Regions from separate parts of the Homo sapiens genome. Here region 2 is linked to region 1. Evidence: promoter capture Hi-C in human tissues and cell types (Jung and others, 2019). All regions are on one chromosome and are shown on one strand. The core of a region is centred on a gene start or on the middle of the fragment in contact, and the rest is flanking DNA. Distances in the headings are between cores, read along the strand shown.

The links. Contacts are between HindIII fragments. The study calls those that stand out against the background at their distance.
Region 2: a contact is called between a fragment that was not itself captured here and the fragment with the promoter of HAS1 in region 1, in 2 of the 25 tissues and cell types used here (lymphoblastoid cells and mesenchymal stem cells).

The regions. Positions count from the first base shown.
Region 1 is chr19:51,722,652-51,728,223 of GRCh38, forward strand. HAS1 (hyaluronan synthase 1) reads right to left here and starts at 1,340. Exons shown (of 5, transcript NM_001297436.2): 1 at 1,274-1,340. The coding sequence starts at 1,282. The HindIII fragment of the contact is 37,877 bases long and covers 1-5,572 here.
Region 2 is chr19:51,860,790-51,866,640 of GRCh38, forward strand. It overlaps a transcript of ZNF577 not described here and the pseudogene LOC100419706. Among named protein-coding and RNA genes, the nearest start is that of ZNF577, 24 kb to the right of the region's middle. The HindIII fragment of the contact is 3,923 bases long and covers 1-3,611 here.

The DNA of each region.
Region 1 (5,572 bases), core at 90-2,589:
TCCTTAAAGGAAGTTTTATTTGCATACAACCACATTCATTTGTTTATACATCATCTGTGGCTGATTCTACATTTACCACATCGAAGTTGAGTACTTTCAAAAGAGACCAGATGGCCCCCAAAAGCCTCAAATATTTAATATTGGGCCCTTTATTTAAAAAAATGTGCTGGCCCCTGACACACTGGGTTAAATAAAAATATATTATTAAAATTAATTTCACCTGTTTGTTTTTACTTTTTCAAATGTGGCCACAAGAAAATTTTAAATTAGATATTGTGGTTTTCGTTACATTTCTAGAGGACAAAACTGAGGTACAGCTTTTAAACTCTCAACATTAAACATTATTCTTTCTTCTCGAATCCCCCTTCTCTCTTCCTTTGCTTCAAACCTGGCCTTGCCTGAGTTCCTAGGGATGGCTCAATTCATGCTGGGGATCCAGAGAGTTGATTCCAGAAACACAGATGAACACACGTGTAGACACACTCCCCCACACGTGAACTCACACATGATGAGTGACACACAGAATGAAATTACTCGTGTTCTACAGGATGACCCGAGACACCCACTCAGGCCAAACACAGCGATCCCGTGACCCCCACCGACGGCCACACAGGTGAACCTGCAGACACACACCCCTCAGCAGGAAAAAGCAACACCAGCAAAGGATGTCCACGTGGCCACAAACACACAGAGCCCCAACTGAGAGTCTGGGGCAATGGGATGCACAGGGAAGATTTCAAGAGAAATAGTAGGTGACTGTCAAGCTGATACTGAACCAGATGAAATTGCTATTCTTCCAAGTTTAGAGTGGCTCAGTATCGGCGATTTCATTTGGTTCAACTTAATAGCTATTGAACGCATGAAACAGAAATCCATTCCCATGTGCCACAGGCAAATCCAACTCTCTTTCTCACTCAGTCTCTTTCATTCGCTCACTGTCGCACTCCCTCTTTCTCTCTGCCTCCCAGGGAACATAGACATACACAAGTTTGTAGCAAGATACGCAGATACAGAAATACGGACATGGCACGTCTCACCTACATGTACTTGGGATGGCCGCTCACACAGGGCAATGTATACACAGACCTGCACACTCAGCCTCACATGCTCACTGTCCCCTACACACATATGGTCACTGTCAGGCACATGGATACACACATGAAATCATGCACACACAGTTCCCCAACACACGTGGTCACACATATGGCAGTAGTTTTCCCCACATGGCTGTATACACACACACACACACACACACACACACACACACACACACCTGTCTCATCGCAGTGGGTCTGGCCGGGCTCTCTCTTCTCTCCGGCTTGCTCTCCCAGCCTCTCTGTGGCCAGAGAGCTGGAGGGGGGTCATTTGAAGACCAGCGCAGGCGGGGGCGGGAGCGAGCGCTGACGTCAGTCAGGCTAAGCTGGGCCAGGGGCTCTGAGGTCACGGCCCAGCCGGGCAGCTCCACCCGCTTCCCGCTATTACTCCCACCCCCCTCAGCCAGACGGGCCTCCCTTCCCAGGCCCCCATGTCTACCCGCGCCCCTCCTCTAGTCCTCTCTGCCATCACTCCCCCTCCTCTCCCTCCCTCCTCTATGTCTTCTTCTCTCTTCCTCCCCCCTCTCGTCCCTTGTCTCCCCTGATTTTTCTCTTCCACCTCACTTGCATTTTGGGGGTTCCCCTCATCCCCCCATCCCCTATCCCTGTATTTCCCTCCATCCCTTTCTTTCTCCCTAACCCACTATTTCTCCTCATCTCTTTGTTGGTACCCTCATCTCTCTCCCCATTACCACATTTCTCCAAGTTTCTGTCTTTCTCTCCATCCCTTTCTTCCTCTCCACTTCTCTTGCCTCCTCTCACCCTCATTTCTTTCTCTTCTTGCTTTAAAGCTCTCCCCACCTCCCCCTTCTCACCTTCCCCAGTCACCCCCGCCCTGCTTCTCCCCACAGCCGCCTCTCCTGTCCCCAGAATCCATCTCTGGGTTGGGCCCCCCAGGGACATGTCTCAGCAACTGGCAGATGGAACGAAACTCACACACGTGCGTGCTGTGGGTGTGCCTGTGTGTACGCTGGCCCGAGGCACGGCTGCCTGGAACCGGAGCTGTGAGTGAACATCTGTCCATTCAGCGCCTAACTGACGTGGGTCTGCGTGTGTGCACCAGGGTCTGGGGTGGAGAGCTGGGGCGCTGGGATTTGTATCCCCAGGGACTCAGGGATGAACACAGAGAGTTGTCGGTCAGCTGACCCTGGGGAGCCAGCCGGGGTCTGTCAGTGCTGTCACCCATCAGGGAAACTGAGTCAGAGGAAGGGTGAAAAGAGATGCGGGACCTGGGGTGCCCGAACCCCAGCCCCTCAGGACCAGATCTGTGATAAATGTCTGTTTACATGCCCTTCTTTCCATGAATTTTTTAAAAAAACTATCTGTATCTAATTCTGTTCTTCTCTCTGCTCCTCTTACTGTGAACTATTGATGTCTCACTTTCGGCCTTGGTAGCTGCCTCGGTAGCTGCCTCGTTCTTTTCTCCCTGCCTGTGACTCCAACGACCTTTGGTGTCTGGCACGGGCCAGCTCCAGGACAGGCTGAAAGACATGGAGCAGCAGAGAGAAATTCCCCCGTGCTTCTCTCTCCTCGTCTGTCCCTCCCCAAATCTCTGTCATTTTGTATCTGTCACCCCATCTCTGTTTCTCGGTCCCTCTATTTGGGTCTCTGCCTCTGTGTATTCCTGTCTGTTTCTCCTCCTCATCCCCCCTCACAGCCATTCTCTCTCTGCTTTTACCTGGGAGTGTCTGTCCCTTTGCATTTCTGAAGTCTCCCTGACTTTCTTCTTGTGTGGCTCTCTTTCTTTCTGAGTGCCTCTCCCTGACTTTCTCACTGTGTGTCCATGTGTGTGTGTCTCTTTCTCTCTGTCTCTTTTTCCCTCTATCTCCCTCCCTCTCTAGCTCTGTCTCTATCCTCCTTCCGTCTCTCTGCATCCCCATCTCTCTCTTTTTTTTTTTTTTTTTTTGAGACGGAGTCTCACTCTCTCACCTAGGCTGGAGTGCAGTGGCGTGAGCTCGGCTCACTGCAACCTCCGCCTCCCGGGTTCAAGCGATTCTCCTGCCTTAGCCTCCCGAGTAGCTGGAACTACAAGCGCCCACCACCACACCTGGCTAATTTTTTGTATTTTTAGTAGAGATGGGGTTTCACTATGTAGGCCAGGCTGGTCTCCAACTCCTGACCTCAAGTGATCCATCTGCCTTGGCCTTCCAAAGTGTTGGGATTACAGGCGTGAGCCACCGCACCTATCTCTTTGTAAGGCTCTATCTCTGTATGTGTTTCTCTGTCTCTGTCTCTCTCATTCAGTTTCTCTCCATTTCTCTGTTTCTACATCTTCGTCTCTCCCTGCAGTTCCATCTCTTCCAGCCTGTCCCGGAGCTCTCCCCTGCCAGACACCAAGTCCTCACACCAAGTCCTCACACCCTGGGGTTTTCCCCGAGGAGGCTGCGCCAGGCCAAGCCTCTGCCTGGGCCTGTCAGGGAGAAGGTGCATTCCCAAGGAGCTCGAACGCCCTTCCCACCCACCAGGGCGGGCCGGGCTGTGTCTGACGCTGTTGCCGGGAGCCGGGCTGCCTGGTGTCTGGCTGTGTCAGGATGATGGGTCCTCAGATGATCTGAGGCCAGCCCAGAGCAGAAGGGGAGGGTGAGTCCTCCGCCCAGTGGGAGGGGGCAGCGCAGGCTCCTCCCCAGAAGTGGGGCATTTGGCTGCCCAGCCCCCACCCCGCCCTGCTCGGGTGGAGCAGCTGTATAAAACCAGATGTTTCTAAAACCAGAGTGCGGTTGAGGAAGGATAACCAGGGCTTTAATCCTCAACAGTTCCCTCCTCTAAGACCCAGGAGTCCAGGTTCCCAGCACCCTCCTCCTTCAGACCCGAGAGTCCAGACCCCAGCCCTTCCTCTCTCAGGCCCAGGAGTCCAGGTTCCCATGTCCCTCCTCCCTCAGACCCAGGATCCCAGACACCCAGCCCCTCCTCCTTCAGACCCAGGAGTACAGGTTCAGAGTTCCTCATCCCTCAGACCCAGGGTCCAGACCCCCAGTCCCTCCTCCCTGAGACCCAGGAGTCCAGGCCCCCAGCCCCACCTCCCTCAGACCCAGAAGTCCAGGTCCCCAGCACCCCTCCCTCAGACCCAGGAGTCCAGGCTGCCAGCCCCGCCTCCCTCAGACCCAGGAGTCCAGGCCCCATCCCCTCCTCCCTCAGACCCAGGAGTCCAGGCCCCATCCCCTCCTCCCTCAGACCCAGGAGTCCAGGCCCCATCCCCTCCTCCCTCAGACCCAGGAGTCCAGACTCCATCTCCTCCTCCCTCAGACCCAGGAGTCCAGGCCCCCATCCCCTCCTCCCTCAGACCCTGGAGCCCAGGCCCAGGCCCCCATCCCCTCCTCCCTCAGACCCAGGAGTCTCAACTCCCAGCTTCCTTCTCCCTTAGACCTACATGTCCAGCCCCCAGAATTTCTTGCAGGAAGAGATGACCAAGGCTGGAAGCAGCCCAGACAAGTGCTGAAAGACAGGGAGCAGTGAAGCTGAACACTCCCACAGCAGGCCGGGGCTGTTGTTGGAGGGACAGGTAGGGACACCGCACCCCTCGCTAACACCCATGGCTCCTAGAAACCCCCATTCCTCTGGTGGCTGCTCTCCAGTTCCTGCCCTGGGTCCACAGTGGCCTTCCCAGCATTTCAGCCATCATCAGGAAACCTCAGGGTACAGCTTACAGAATACCTGGACAGAAGGAGCACAGGGTGGGAGAGGTAAGGCAAAAATGGAGCAAAGGCAGAGGAGAGAACATTCATTCATTGTGGGGACATCTCCTGAGCCCTGGTGGACAGGGCTGGGCTGGGCGATGCCGGGCACACAGAGATGACTCAGCCCTGGGCCCTGCCCTTGGGGAGATGCCAATCTGGTGGAGAAGACAGCTGTGTAAACAGAGGGCCACAAAACAGTACAAGGATGCACCAACCCAGCCCAAGAGTCAGGGAGGGCTTCCTGGAGGAGGTGATGCTGGCTGATGAGGCGTTAGCCGTGGTCAGGGTGGTGGTGGACGGTGGGGCAAGAAAGGGGCATCCAAGGCAAGAAATGGTGTGGCCAGTCAAAAAAGTAAGGGCGGATTGATGCTGTGAAGCACAAAGGGTGAAACAAGGGGCTGGGGGATTGTAGGGTCCCTAGTGAGGTCCGCTCATTTAGGTTTAAAAAAATTTTTTTTGGCCAGGCACAGTGGCTTATGCCTGTAATCCCAGCACTTTGGGAGGCCAAGGCGGGCAGATCACTTGAGGTCAGGAGTTTGAGACCAGCCTGTCCAAAATGGTGAAACCCCGTCTATACTAAAAATGCAAAAGTTAGCCGGGTGTGGTGGCGTGCACCTGTAATCCCAGCTACTCAGGAGACTGAGGTGGGAGAGTCACTTGAATGGGAGGCGGAGGTTGCAGTGAACGAAGATTGCGCCACTGCACTCCAGCCTCCCGTCTCAAAAAAAAATTTTTTTTAAACTAAGTAACAATTATACATATTTATGGTATACAACATGACATTTGCTATATACATATATATAT
Region 2 (5,851 bases), core at 400-2,899, 140 kb after region 1:
AAAGATAAACATTAACTGGGAAGACTTTATCACAATCACATTCACTGTATCTATGAGATTTCTCTCGTAAACAAGATATTCAAAGAGTTTTGACTTTCAGATTTTAATTTTTACCTGCAATGAGGTGTGATTCTTCTTAGCTTTCCTGCATTCCCTCCATCTGTAGGGTCCTTCTCCTGAATGAATACCCTAATGTGTAACAAATATAATTTGAGAATGATTTATCATTTTCATTACATCCACTGGTGCTGCCTACTAAATGGAAAGCTTCTAGTTTTCTAATAAACTTTTTTGACAATCACTGCACTCATAATTGACTCTCTCTTTTTTTTTTTTTTTTTTTTTTTGAGACAGAGTCTCACTCTGTCACCCAGGCTGGAGTACACTGGTGCAATCTCGGCTTACTGCAACCTCCACCTCCTAGGTTCAAGAGATTCTCCTGCCTCAGCCTCCTGAGTAGTTAGGATTACAGGTGTGCACACCACACCTGGCTATTTGTTTTTTTTTTTTTTTGTATTTTTAGTAGAGACAGGGTTTCATCATGTTGGCCAGGCTGGTCTCGAACTCCCAACCTCAAGTGATCTGCCTGCTTCAGCCTCCCAAAGTGCTGAGATAACAGGCATGGGCCAATGCGCCTGGCCAATGATTCTTCTTGTGAGATCTCTACGGTAAACGAGGGATATCTTCAAAAAAGAAGGCTTAAAATATTCATTGCATCTATAAGGTTTCTCTCCCACAAGAGTTCCAAAAGGGCCCATTACAATCATAGTATTCATGGAACTTCTATTGTGTCTGAGCTGATGTGACTAATCAAAAAAGCTCTCTCATATTCCAAGTCACTGCATGGACTTTCTTCCTTCCTGCTGGGGTTTCTGATGATTAGTAATAGCTGATTTCTGAGTAAAGCTTTTTGACATTCACTGCATCTATAGGGCCTCTTTCCTGTGTGAGTTCTCTGGTGACCAATGAGAGTTTACAAAGTAGCGAATGCTTTCTTACAATCACTGCATTTATATGGTTTCTCTCCTGTATGAATTCTCTAATGTACAGTGAGACAGGATTTAACTATGATGGCTTTATTACACATGCTACATTTGAGGAGTTTCTCACCTGTATAGGTTCTCTGTTATATAATGAGAGTTGACTTACAGGACAAAACCTTCCCACATCCACTGTATCCATAAGATTTCATTCTTGCATGGCAAGTTTTTCGATGCTTACTGAGACCTGTCTTTTGGGTGAAAGCTTGTTGACCTTCATTGCATCATAGGGTCTCTCTCCTGTGTGAATTGGCTGATGAGTCATGAGATATACCTTACTGGAGAAGGCCCTATCACAGTCTGAGCATTCATATGATTTATTTCCTATATGAGTTCTCTGATATACAATGAGATTTCCCTTTGATGTGAAGGCTTTATCACATACATTGCATTTGAAGGGTTTCTCACCTGTATGGGTTCTCTGATGTATAACAAAGTTTTTTTTGGAGGATAAAACCTTCCCACATTCACTGCATTCATGGGATTTCCTTACTGCATGATGAGTTTTCTTATGATTGTTGAGATCCAACTTCCAGATGAAAGCTTCTTGACATTCACTGCATCCATAGGGTCTTTCTTCTGTATGAATTCACTGATGCTTCATAAGCTGAGCCTTTTTCAAGAAGGCTTTCTCATAATCCAAGCAAGCATATGGTTTCTCTCCTGTGTGAGTTCTCTGATGTATAGTTAGCTGTGTTCTAACCATGAAGGCTTTATGATAGACTTTGCACCTGAAAGGTCTCTCTCCTGAATGAGTTCTGAGATGCAAAATGAGGTTCGACTTCCAAGGAAAAGCTTTCCCACATTTACTGCATCCATAGAATTTTCCTTTTCTATGAAGAACTTTCTGAGGATAACTGAGCTCAGATCTGGTCTTCAAAGCTGTTTGACATTGAATGCATTAATAGGGTATCTCTCCTGTGTGAATTCACTGATGAATCATGAATAAAGCCTTTTTTGAGAAGGCTTTTTCACAATCTGAGCAAGCATATGGTTTCTCTCCTGTGTGAGCTCTCTGATGTACAGTGAGATGTGTCCTAACCACAAAGCCTTTATCACATACTTTGCAAATGAACGGTCTCTCTCCTGAATGATTTCTTTGACATAAAATGAGTTCTGACTTCCAAGGGAAAACTTCTCCACATTTGCTGCATGTACAGACTTTCCCTTCTCTATGATGAGTTTTCTGATGATACACAAGCCCTGAATTTGTAATGAAGGCTTTTTGACATTGATTGCATCAGTAGGGTCTCACTCCTGTTTGAGTTTGCTGATGAGCAATGAGCTTTAACTCACTGGGAAGGGCTCTCCTAAAATCATGAGATTCCTGGGATTTGTTTCCTGCATGAGTTCTCTGAGGCATGGTCATGAGTAGTTTACAAGTATTCACTGCACATTCACTGCATCCATATGATTTCTTTCCAAAAAGAATTGGTTATAATTAGCAAGCTCTGACTTCTGGATGTTATGAAAGCTAGTGTACGCACAACAGAGTAAGTGAGATAACAAGAAGAGGTCCAGAAAAAGGCTTCTTTTCCCATTTACCATAAAAAGATATTAGTAAGATGGTTAAATTTGAGTAAGCTCTGTATTTTAAATAATAATACTATATCAATGTCAATATTCTGATTTTGATCACAGTATTCTGATTATGCAAAAGAATGCTCTTCTTCCTATGAAATACACACTTGGGTTTTAGGGTAGAGTTCAGAAAAACCATATGTACCTGTGTGTGGTGTGTGTGTATAGATAAAATAAAGCAAATTGGTAAAATCATATTTTGGGGAAATTTGCAAAAAGAATGTGCAAGAATTTTGTGTATCATTTTGGAACATCTCATTAAATCTAGACCATTTGGAGACAAGCATTTTCAAAAGGAGAAAATAAAAATAAAGATATTGATGAAAACATACATAGGGACACTAAGTATAATGGCCTGAATGTAAAAGAGATAAACAGTGTAATATTCACCCAATGCCATTCTGCACAGGACTCAGATTCTTGATCTAGGTGCTGGTTGCACAGTGTGCTGACTAGAAAGTTACCTAGCTGTATAATTACATTATATGTATGTTATACCAAAACATTTTTCATTAATAAGTAAACAAAAACGTTTAGGCCGAAATCAGGGAATGCTCCCTTGTAGGAGGATCCTGAAAAGAATTTGGATCTTGTGCTAACAGTAACAGGATGCCATTACCAATGATAGTGGGAGCAGGATGACATGTCCTGATTTCCAATTTAAAAGCAACATCCTGTGTGTATGTTTATCAGTAATTAACACTGACCATGTCTTAAATATTATGGCATGAATATTTTTAGGCTTGCACCCTGTGAATGAGTACAGATTTGCTACATCATATAGCATTTTTTAGACCATAATTTAGATCTTTCCATCCTCCAACTAAGATTTACCTTTTTATATGAAGCTTTAATTACTTTCCGCAACACTTTTGTCAAAATCTGAAGTCTTTTAAGAACCAAGATGTTTCTGATGTTTATTTTAATGTTCAGGGATTTTGGAGGTGAGGGGCTAGAAACACTGACTCCTGCCCCTGACTCCCGCCCCTGACTCCCGCATTTATTTTCATAAATGAAAATAGTAAAATAAATTCATTAAGGGTATTATGTGGAGAATAGAAACAAGAGTAAAGGACTGAGAGTATATTAGAGAAAACTATCATAATTTTGGCAAGAGATAATGGACATCGAAGCTTGAGTGAAAATAACTGTTAGAGAAAGGAGTAGAGGACCTCGAGATATAAGGAGAAAGTAAAGTCTAAACTTGCTAAATGGACTGGATTTGTGGGATGAGTGAAACGGTGAAGCAAGGATGACTTGAAGTTTGAGTTAGCTATTAGATCTCCAAGCAATTCCCAGGCAAATGTAGGAGGATAAGGAAATATCTAGCCTGTAGAGAGAAATCTGTGAGTCATCAACATATAAATAGCATTGTTAAGTCCATGAAATCGAAGAGGTCACACTGGGAACAAAGAAAAGAAATTACCAATGATGAAGCACCCTTACGCCCTCCAACTCTGAAGGCTTTGGGAGAAGGAGATGCCCAGAGAATGGAAAAAGTCCATCCATCACGCTCAAACAATAAGTACCCAGAAAAGAGGCCAACTTAAGTCTTAGGAACCAACATCTGTGGGAAGCAAGATAAAATGAAGTCTTCTCAGCTCTTCACATAAATGTAAGTGCTGTCACTCTGTTTCAGATTCATTCTTCTTTAATTCTGCATGCAACAGTCAATGAACTTTCCCAAAGATTTTTTTTTTCTTGAGACGGAGTTTCGCTCTTGTCACCCAGGCTGGAGTGCAATGGCGCAATCTCAGCTCACTGCAACCTTCGCCTCTAGGGTTCAAGTGATTCTCCAACCGCACCTCTGGAGTAGCTGGGATTACAGGGCACTCGCCACCATGCCCAGCTAATTTTTGTATTTTTAGTAGAGACAGGGTTTCGCCATGTTGGCCAGGCTGGTCTTGAACTTCTGACCTCAGGTGATCCACCCACCTCGGCCTCCCAAAGTGCTGGGATTACACACGTGAGCCACCATGCCCGCGCCTTCCCAAAGATTTCTAACACCATATATACAGGAACACCACTGTGGTGAGCACTCCCACCTTCTAGGTTGCTTTGATACATTCTCATATGATTCACTCAGGTCTGTAGGAAATACAAAAATCAGGCCAAATATCCTTACCCCAGGATAAAAGGCAGTGCTGTGATGATGTGTCGATTGTGAGAATCTAAGTCAATATAAAGAGAGAAAAAGGCACATTTTCTTTGAAACGCCAAACAAAAGAGAGCCTCATCAATGATCTAGGTATCTGTAGTCACCTTCCAAGTCTTTGCCCTGTTAAACACATTTGGAAGGGGTCCAACCCTCATGGTCAGCTCCTTTACTTTCCAGGTCTCCCATCTTGTTGGTTCTCACTCACCTGAAATGCACTGACCTCACATTTTATCCTCTATTCTCCATGTTTGAAATTAAATATCACTGGCTGGGTGCGGTGGCTCACACTTGTAATCCCAGCACTTTGGGAGGCTGAGGCGGGCAGATCATGAGGTCAGGAGATTGGGACCATCCTGACCAACATGGTAAAACCCCAGCTCTACTAAAAATACAAAACTTAGCTGGGTGTGGTGGCACACGCATGTAATCCCAGCTACTCAGAAGGCTGAGGCAGGAGAATTGCTTGAACTCGGGAGGCAGAGATTGCAGTGAGCTGAGATGGCGCCACTGCACTCCAGCCTGGCGACAGAGCAAGACTCCATCTAAAAAAAAAAAAAAATTAAAGATATCTGGTTTGGTAGCTTAAGAGCCTGTTTATGGGAAATGACAAAGACTTGAACACTTATAATTGGGCTTGATGGGAGGTGTCTATGAACAGCACAGAAATGTTTCTGGAACTGACACACTTTCAGCTCGGCAGATTCAACATCTACTATGACAGAGGCTGCAGTGAGCCAAGATTGCACCACTGCACTCCAACCTGGGTGACAGAGCAAGACCTGTCTCAAATAAAAATTAAAAATAAAAAAAAGTAAAATAAATACATAAGGAACCACCCCCAGCTGACAGCCAGCAAAGAAACAAATCTCAGAATTAGTCTGCCAATACCCTGGATAAGCTTGGAAGTGGATTCTTCCCAGATTCTTCCAATAAGAGCCCTGTTGGCCCACACCTTGACTTCAGTCTTTGAAACCCAGATCAAAGAAACCAGTCAAGCCAATCCAGACTTCTGACCTAAAGAACTGTGAGACAATAAATTTGTGTTGTTTCAAGCTGCTAAACGTTTGTGAGA